Linked DNA regions of Homo sapiens: all the other regions are linked to region 1. Evidence: promoter capture Hi-C in 16 types of primary human blood cells and fetal thymus (Javierre and others, 2016). All regions are on one chromosome and are shown on one strand. The core of a region is centred on a gene start or on the middle of the fragment in contact, and the rest is flanking DNA. Distances in the headings are between cores, read along the strand shown. Region 1 holds the start of TMEM131 (transmembrane protein 131). Region 2 holds the start of C2orf15 (chromosome 2 open reading frame 15). Region 3 overlaps LIPT1 (lipoyltransferase 1).

What was found. Contacts are between HindIII fragments. The CHiCAGO score rates a contact against its expected background, and 5 or more counts as called.
Region 2: a contact is called between the fragment with the promoter of C2orf15 here and the fragment with the promoter of TMEM131 in region 1, in 1 of 17 cell types (non-activated CD4 T cells). The highest score is 6.3, in non-activated CD4 T cells.
Region 3: a fragment that was not itself captured here is called in contact with the fragment with the promoter of TMEM131 in region 1 in 1 of 17 cell types (total CD8 T cells); the score reaches 6.3 in total CD8 T cells.

Annotation. Positions count from the first base shown.
Region 1 is chr2:97,994,356-97,997,305 of GRCh38, reverse strand. TMEM131 (transmembrane protein 131) reads left to right here and starts at 1,358. Exons shown (of 41, transcript NM_015348.2): 1 at 1,358-1,830. The coding sequence starts at 1,644. RefSeq lists enhancers at 649-928, 1,099-1,612 and silencers at 1,149-1,398, 1,509-2,068. The HindIII fragment of the contact is 7,821 bases long and covers 1-2,950 here.
Region 2 is chr2:99,140,080-99,143,026 of GRCh38, reverse strand. C2orf15 (chromosome 2 open reading frame 15) reads right to left here and starts at 1,320. Exons shown (of 4, transcript NM_144706.4): 1 at 1,090-1,320; 2 at 626-742. All of the region lies in intron 1 of TSGA10 (testis specific 10), which reads left to right. RefSeq lists an enhancer at 583-1,389 and silencers at 1,611-1,920, 1,991-2,060. The HindIII fragment of the contact is 4,390 bases long and covers 1-2,947 here.
Region 3 is chr2:99,157,523-99,160,571 of GRCh38, reverse strand. The region is part of intron 1 of LIPT1 (lipoyltransferase 1); the gene reads right to left. Among named protein-coding and RNA genes, the nearest start is that of LIPT1, 4.1 kb to the right of the region's middle. The HindIII fragment of the contact is 3,184 bases long and covers 1-2,919 here.

The DNA of each region.
Region 1 (2,950 bases), core at 109-2,608:
AGTAGATTCTGGAGTTCCTTTTGTCTTTCTGAAACCTTATTTTCCTATCTAGCTTGTTCTGAGACGTACTGTGGGCAGACTTGGCCTTACACATATATCGACTCACTCAACAAATACAGCTAAGGAAAGTAAAATGTCTCTGGGCTACAAGCTGGGAGGAAGTTACTAAGATGAGTAAAGAAGGACCCCCTCCAAGAGCTTAAATTAAGTCTTGGAGACAACAGCCATGCGCACCAAGAAGCTCAACCTAAGATGAAAAGGGCATCTAAGAGGCGCGAGATGGCTCGTGAAGGTAACAGACGTCTTAAGAATTTTTCCGGGCCCAGCACAGTGGCTCACGCCTGTGATCCCAGCACTCTGGAAGGCCGAGGAAGGCGGACTGCTTGAGCCCAGGAGTTCGAGACCTGCTCGGCCAACATAGTGAGACAGCGTTTCTTAAAAGAAAAAGAAAAATTGGCGTGGCGTGGTGGCGGGTGCCTGTAGTCCCAGACCGCACCACTGCACTCCAGCCTGGGCGGCAGAACCAGACCCTGTCTCAAAAATAAATAAATAATTAAAAAATAAAGAAAAGAAAAAAAAGAATTCTTCCTCGAGAGAGGAAGCCGGCTACTGGATATTCTAAAGAGCAGTCTGTTTGCCCCTGCCTTCTCCATCCAGAGTCACCGACGCTTTCTGCACACGAGGTGTTCCGCGCCAATGTGGGCACAAGCCAAGGCAAGAGGACTCCATCAAGCTCCTCCTGGGTACCATGATTTGGAAGACCCAAGGATGAGTTCAGCGGGCCACCATCCTCAAGGAAGCACCATCAAGAACTGAGTCAGGCCCGGGGTATTCTCGACGTCAAAGCGGTCGAGAGGTGGGGGTGCCACCAGGAAGAGTCACTGGAACGGACCTTCCGCGCTCGTCTCGCGGTCTGTATGCGCACTCACACCCCTGGAAGGCTCTACCACTGTAGGACAGAGCACGGAGGATTGCCCAGGCGCCGGAGAAGAGGTTAGCGCCCCGCAACTCCGCCCCTGCCCCGCCCACGCAACGCGGCGGCTGCGCGGCGAGGCCGCCCCGTCTCCACGTGATTGCCGACACCGCCTCCGCGAAGCAGAAGCCGCCATCATAAGTCCTGGCAGCTGGACCTGGGCCTGCCTCCCTCCTTCTCCTGCGCCAGGTAGCGGTAACGGGCTGGGGTTGTTCTGTCCTGGTTCTGTCTGGCCGTGAAGCCGCAGGCCTCCGAGAGCGGGACGAGGAGGTGGGGCCCAGGGGGCTCCGGGGCGGACAGACTGACCGCCGGACAGCCCAGGTGTCGGCACAGCGTGGGCGGTGCCCAGAGCCGCGCCCCGCCCCTCGCAGGCCAGCGCTCAGGGCTCGCGGGCCGTGCCCGTTTCCAGTATGGCCGCCCGCCGCGCCTGACCCGCGGCCTCTCCGCTCCGACTGCTTGTAGGCGATGCCCAGGCAAAGACCGTGACTGACACTCTCGCTCACACGCACGCACGGACCCAGGCCCACGCTCGGAGATCGAGCCCCGGGCTCGCAACCGTTGTCGCTCCCGGCGCCGCGGCCAGAGCCCGGACCACGGCTTCCGCGCCGCCGCCGCCTCGCCGAGAAGGGCCGCGCCGGACCTCGAGCGCGGCGGCCCCCGGCCGGCAGGGATGGGGAAGCGGGCGGGAGGAGGAGCAACCGGAGCCACCACCGCCGCCGTCTCCACGTCCGCCGGGGCCGGGCTGGAACCTGCGGCCGCCCGTAGCGGGGGCCCGCGGAGCGCGGCCGCCGGCCTCCTAGGCGCGCTGCACCTGGTGATGACCCTCGTAGTGGCTGCGGCGCGGGCCGAGAAGGAAGGTGGGTGTCCCCCGGCGGCGTCCCTGCGGCGGGGCTGTCACCCCGCTCTCGCGGAGGCCGGGAGGGCTGGGCCGGGAGGAAGGGCCGCGGCCGGGGCTCCGGCGCAAAGTTGGGCGGTCGGGTACCGTCCCGAGCCGGGACCTCGCGGCGCCCGCCGCACGGAGTGGCCTTCGCTCTCCGTGATTCCTTCCCGTGCCTTCCCCCGTCTCCTGTCACTGCCATTTCAAAACTTCCTGACTTCTCGTACGTTCTTGCCACTTGGCCCGCTAGGTAGGAGGGGCATATTTTTTGGCTTTATTGCGGCGAATAGGTACATTTTAGGACACTTCTGTTTTCTTGGTTGCGGTTGGTTGCATGCAGACAGAGCTTACTTTAAAATGTGGTAAAAATAGCGAGACACAGCTTAAAAAATTTCACTTTGAATTTGTTCAGACATTTCTTCGAGGGGAAATCTTGGTCCTGTAGCTTCCTCCTTTAGTGTCTCTGCGTTATTGATAACTTTATTATTAGACCTAAATACAATTCCATTTAACTCTTTAGTAAGCTGTTGAAAGCCTGTTTACATTTCTTATTTTAAAATACGTGATTCGGTGCCTTTATCTTTGATGTGAAAGCCTTTAAAAATAAACGTGAAGTTGCCAGCTTGCAAGCATTTATCTATAATTTACAGTTAAGGGCTGGCCCCTATTTTAAAAATCTCATTAGTATTGTACTGCTGCAAAACGGGTACTTGGACAGGGTCAAAAATTATTTTGTAATCTTGAAGACCAAATCAGTGTAATTTCATCTACACTACCTCTTTTTGAGCCAAGGGACATGTGAATGGTCACAGAGCCTTCATGAAGAATTGACTAAGTGAATAGTTTAAAAAAAAAACAAACCACGCAAAACTTGTTAGTTTAGCATTGCACATGAAACTGCCTGTACAAGAAAACAATTTCTTGCCACGGTAATTTTAGAGTTAACATTCTACTTTATGACTAAAGTCACTTGCTTTTTATTGTTGCTGAAGGTGAAAGCAAATACAAACCAAATTAGTATTAAAGTGCAAATGTGCTTCAGTATACTGTTTCTTTTATTTTTGTCCACATTACATTCCCTTATCTAACTCTCTAAGCAA
Region 2 (2,947 bases), core at 71-2,570, 1.1 Mb before region 1:
GAAAAAAAAGGAAAATCTTTTCACCCTCTTTTGGCCTTAAAATGATCATTTCCTTATATTCTTTCCAAATAATCTTCAGTACCGTCTAGGTGGCATACATAAGTGCTTAAACTTTTCTTATTCTTTCTATAAGGGAAGTACTTTCCTACTTCCTATATTAATAATCTCCCCACCCCCGAAGTCTTCAACTCCAGCTGATAGTTTTAAACTTAGAACATTCTTTCCTATTTGTTTTTAATAATGCTAGATAATGTATTCAAAATAATCTTAGTATCTGAAGAGGAAATGAGATTATACATTATTCCCTCTAACATAACTTCTCAGTTTGTTATTTTGTGCATTTAAAAAATTACATTTCCGAGGATATGTGCTCCTTGTGTCCTCTAACCTCTTAATCTAAAATAACAGGGACACTTAATTTTTTTTGGTATCTAATTATACTTACAAAGTATATGATATCTGAAAATAAATGCGACAAAATATGAGACCATGTAATAACACGATGAAAAGACATTGGAAAAACATGGCATTTATATTAAATGTATTTTTATGACTAAATTTGTTCTACACAAAAGTTGTTTATCCCTGCCAATGATATCTTGTGGGGGGAAAAATGAGTACTCACCTGGCGAAAACAGGAATTGTTAGTCTCCTCAAACGAGAGCTTACTCTTGAAATACACAGCGTTCTACCATATCAAGGTCATCAGAGAATTGCTGTAAAAACCTAGTGTCTATGTCATCTGCAGGAAAAGGAGATAAAGTCACCATTATCATCCAGAAGCTCTTGAGTTATTTAAGAAGGGACATGGTAGGTATTAAGAAAAATTAAGAAGACTTTTTTCCCCCCCATTCTGGGCTCCAAAAAATTGGTAGAAGAATGCAGCGCTCATTCTTTTTCACTAAAAAGCTCATTTGTCACTTTAAGGTGAGGGGATTTGGAAAAGGACTGGCATGTGGAGAAGGAATATCGGTCAGGAATCTGGACTTTGTTGCTAGATCTGCCACTTCCTGATTCAGCCCTGATCGTGCAGAGCTGACCAAGGCCGTGGTCCCCAGGCTCCCCTGACTCCAGGCTGCCCACGCTCACCGGGACAGGCCGGCTCGCTCCCTGCAGGCTGCAGCGGGAGGGCTGGACCTGGAAGCCTCTCTTAAAACGGGCCCTGGCTGCAGCAGGAGCTGCGCCCGAAAGCAGCTCTGAGAGTAACCGGTTCACCGAACATGGGTCCAGAATGATGCCCAAGCCCTGGGAAAAGTGGCACAAAGCCACCGCCGCGAAGCAGCAGGTGTTTCAAGCTGAGGGAAGGCGGGGCTGCGAGAGACAGCCTTGCGCATGCGCGTTCCATCCAGGTGCGGCAGCCTCAGGCAGAGATTAAGAAATGAGTCGTGGAAAAGGGGGCTAGCGGCTGGTTACTAGGAGACGGGACGCTCGGCTCGGGCGTCTAGGCGCTGCGTGGGCGTGCGCCTGCGCGGCGCGGATGGGCCAGGAAGGGGTCCCTCCTAGGTGCCCTGTAAGGCAGGCAGGTAGACGTACGCGTCGCTCCGTGCGTAGGAGCGCGCGCACGGCTTGTAGACCCCGCGAGAAGGAAGGTCGAGCCAGGTACGCGTGCGCACCGGGCCTGGGGGCGAGCGGGACGGAAGCAAAGCTGGGGCGCCGGGGAGGTGGAAGACGAGCCCCACTCCGGTACAGAGCGTGAGGGCGGGGCCACGGCGGCACTGGCTGGCGCTAACCGCCCCCTCCTCCTTCCCGCGGGCTCCGTCCTTCCTCCGATCCGCCGGGGCGGGGCCAGGACGATTTGGGGGTGGGAAGGGAGGAGAAAGGGGCGGAGGATGGAGAGTGGGCGGTTCTTGTATCCCCCGCTGAGGCCGAGAGCTGACAGTCGCGGGGATGAGCTCTGGGCAGGACGGCGGGCCGAGGAGCCCGGGGAGGGACCCGGAGCTCCAGGTAGAAGCTGCGGAGGTGCGCGGGGTGGGGAGAGTGCTGCTACTGGACTGGAAGGTCTCTGAGAAGGCGGCTGCAAGCGGGCAGGAGTGGCGGGTGCGGGGCCGTGGCGGGCGGAGTTGGGCGCTAGCAGCGGGAGCGGCTGTGAGGGGCAGCGGCGGGCACAGCTGCCGGCCGGAAGCTCGGCAGCACGAGTTGCCCCTGTTTCTTGGGAGGTTAGGTTTGAGCCCAGTTCCTATGGTCACTGCTTCGCGTCCTCCCGCAGCTCTCCGCTTGGTTGTTGGGGAGACTGTTCAGTTTAGAAACGCTCTGGAAGCTCTGGTGGAGCCGAGGAATTTGGAAGTCACAGATTTGGGAGTTCAGCCTGACTCCCGATCGCTCATTTCTGAGCCTCTTTCTAGACTTGGGGTGGTGAAAGGCTGAGATTACATAGGCATTTGCATGAAAATCTCAGATAATTTTAGTAAAAATTATACACAGTAAAGGCAGGGAAAGCTGGCTTTTGTTGAAAAACTATTTGAGACTTAAATTGGATAACTAGGTGATCATGGACTTGATACCTAAAAACTCACAGAAATATGGTTTTTTTTCACTTTTTTTTTTTCGCAGCTTCGGGAAAGTTTGCATAGATTATAGTGTCCCAACGTTTTCCTTCTTCCATTCCAGGACCTTATATCCTAGGAGATTTCCTTGTTTAAAATTTTCTGTACTGGTGTTCAGCATTTCAAGTATACTTTGTTTACGTGTAAGGACATAAGTAGAATAACAATAGGTTTGTAAGTAGAAAAAAACAGGTTAGTTATAGAAGTAGGATGTCGCATTCGAATCTGCTTCCAGGATAAGACAGATTCTTGTTTGTATTTTAATTGATTAATGAGCCAAACTCTTCAGTCTTAATTAGTGGGAAATAACTAGGACGGTACATTAATTAAATATTAATTTTAAATCCTAAACTTTGGCATTATTTAATGGCAGCTTCCACAATATCTCGCGTACTGTTTACCTT
Region 3 (3,049 bases), core at 78-2,577, 1.2 Mb before region 1:
TGAAGTATTTTGATTACTTATGGTCTTAAATCATTCTATTCCAATTCTATTTCTTAGAATATAATTTTCCTTCAGGTTGAAGAACTGGGAATAGAATGGATTATTAAAGTGTATAACTTGAGGTTAAGAGTTTGGTTCTAAATAAAGAAAGTTCATAACTAGGTAGCTAGGCTTTTTTATTTTTTATTTTTAAGACAGGGTATCACTCTGTAATTGTCTCACTGCAGCCTCGACCTCCTGGGCTCAAGCAATCTCCACATCTCAGCCTCTGAAGCAGCTGGGACTACAGGTATGCGCCACCATGCCTGGCTAATTTTTAAATTTTTTGTAGAGATGGGGGTCTCCCTACGTTGCCTAGGTTGATCTTGAACTCCTGGGCTTCAGTGATCCTCCTGCCTCAGCCTCCCAAAGTGCTGGGATTATAGGCATGGGCCACTACACCTGGCCCCAAATCATTTAGTTAAGTAATATCTTAGAAGTACAATTCTAGATTAAAGAGTCTTCATATTTTCATCACTCTTGTTGTAGTTTATAAACTAACCTACAAAAAGTTGAATCAGTTTACATTCTGTCTAGAAAGGTGTGGAGAGGTTTAATAGAGGAAGGAATACTTGAACTGAGTCACCAAATCTGATAAGTTTGCCAGGTCGAGGAGCATATTCCAGGCATATGCAAAGACAAAGAGTCATCTAATAGTAAGGTATGTTTGGGGATTCCCTCCTAAGAGAAAGAGTTACACTACTAGTCTTCGACTTCCACTTAAGCCTATGGCTATACTGTCCTAGGAAGCCTCGCAACCGAGACTGCATTACTTTGGTTAACCTCTTTGTTCTTGGTTCTGCTTGACTGACTTTGACACAGTACCATATTCATTCAACAAGTATTTATGGAGTTCCTACTAGGTACAAGGTAATAAGGAGATAGAAAATGGGAGGAGATAAATTCATGTAATGAACCAAAATATTTGGACTTTTTAAAAGGCAGCTAAGATCCACTGAAGTGTTAAGCAGGAAGTGTTAACTCAGCTGTTATACGAATCTGCCTCTGCAGGGTTGAGTATGGATTAAATAAAGGATGGACTAGGGACAGGGGGAACAGTTAATGGACTAAGGCAGTTGTCCATGCTAGAGATAATGAGGGCCTAAAGTACGGTAGGAGAGAGAGAGAGAGAGAAGGGGATGGATATGAGTGACATTAAGAAGGTGAACTGGCCGGGCGCAGTGGCTCATGCCTGTAATCCCAGGACTCTGGGAGGCCGAGGCAGGCGGATCACGAGGTCAGGAGATCGAGACCATCCTGGCTAACACAGTGAAACCCCGTCTCTACTAAAAATACAAAAAATTAGCCGGGCATGGTGGCAGGTGCCTGTAGTACCAGCAGCTCTGGGAGGCCGAGGCAGGCGGATCACGAGGTCAGGAGATTGAGACCATCCTGGCTAACACAGTGAAACCCCGTCTCTACTAAAAATACAAAAAATTAGCCGGGCATGGTGGCGGGCGCCTGTAGTCCCAGCAGCTCTGGAGGCTGAGGCAGAAGAGTGGTGTGAACCCGGGAGGCGGAGCTTGCAGTGAGCCGAGATCGTGCCACTACACTCCAGCCTGGGCGACAGAGCAAGACTCCGTCTAAAAGAAAAAAAAAGAAAAGAAGGTGAACCTGTCCTTGCCTTCAAGAAACAAGTACCTCCACAATCTAGTGGGAGATACTAAAAAACAAGTAAGGCAATAATTAAAATACAGTGTCCTAAATGCTGTGATAGGTGTTAAGTACAGTAGAGCGCCATCTAATGCTCTAATTAGTGGATGTGACATTGAAGCTGAGACATAAAAGGGATAAAGAAAAGAATTCTAACAATGTGCAACAGCTTAGTGGAAAAGGAGATAGGACCCATGCAAATAATTTAATTCTACTGGCTGGTTATTAGGAATACAAGAATGGGGAGTTAATAAGAAGGCAAGAGAAGTAGATGTTAGATTATAAAGAACCTTAAATCCAAGTGAAATGCTTGAACTTTATTGCCCAGGATGGAGTGCAGTGGTGTGATCACGGCTCACTGCAGCCCCGACCTCCTGGGCTCAAGCAATCCTCCCCCTTTAGCCAGCATGTGCCACCACGCCTGGCTATTTTTTTTTTTTTTTTTTTTTTGTAGAGATGAATCTCACTTTGTTGTCCAGGCTGGTCTCAAACTCCTGGGCTCAAGCAGTCCTCCTGCCTTGGCCTCCTAAAGCACTCGGATTACAGGCATGAAGGCTTTGGATTTATACTTCAGGGACACCGCCTAGAGATTTTAAGCATGGAGAATGTACAATACTTGGCAATAGGTTGAATTAGGGTGAGAGAAAGAGAAGTCAAGCATCATGTCCTTTATGATATAATGATTACAAGCTCAAACCAGAGTGCCCTCATTCAAATCCCAACTCTATCCTTTATCAGTTGAATGACCTAAGGCAGATTACTTTTCTATGTCTCAGATTTGTTATCTAATATGTGGATAATGACAGGACTCATCTCATATTATCAGGCTGAGTCTGATGAGCTAATACATATAAAGTGGTTAGAAGAGTGCCTGGCACTGAAGAAAGTACACAATATGTGCTAACTATTTTATTAATATTATGCCCTGATTTCTGGCCTGGCAAAGAGGTGAAATTTCCTAGGACAGATTTTATAGGAAGAGGAAGTATGGGGTTAAGATAATTGGTTCATTTTGACTGTTGAACTAGCGGCCAACGGCACAGAGCTCAATGGATGGTAACTGAGGCCACAGGAAGGTGGTTCAGTGAGAAGATTTAAGGGCCTGCGACATAAGACTGAAGAGCAGCAACATTTAACGGACATACAGAAGAAGGAGGGAGAGCTCCCAAAGGAAGCTGAGGATAGAAGAAAAGGCAGAAAAATTTTAAATATGCTATTATGGAAGCTTCAAGGAGACAAGATGGTCAACAGTGCCAAATGCCAAAGATTGAGCAAATAAGATGAGGGTTGAAAAGGATCTATTAAACAGTATCAAGAAGGTTATCAGTGATCTTGGTAAGAACCAGATGTACTGAGT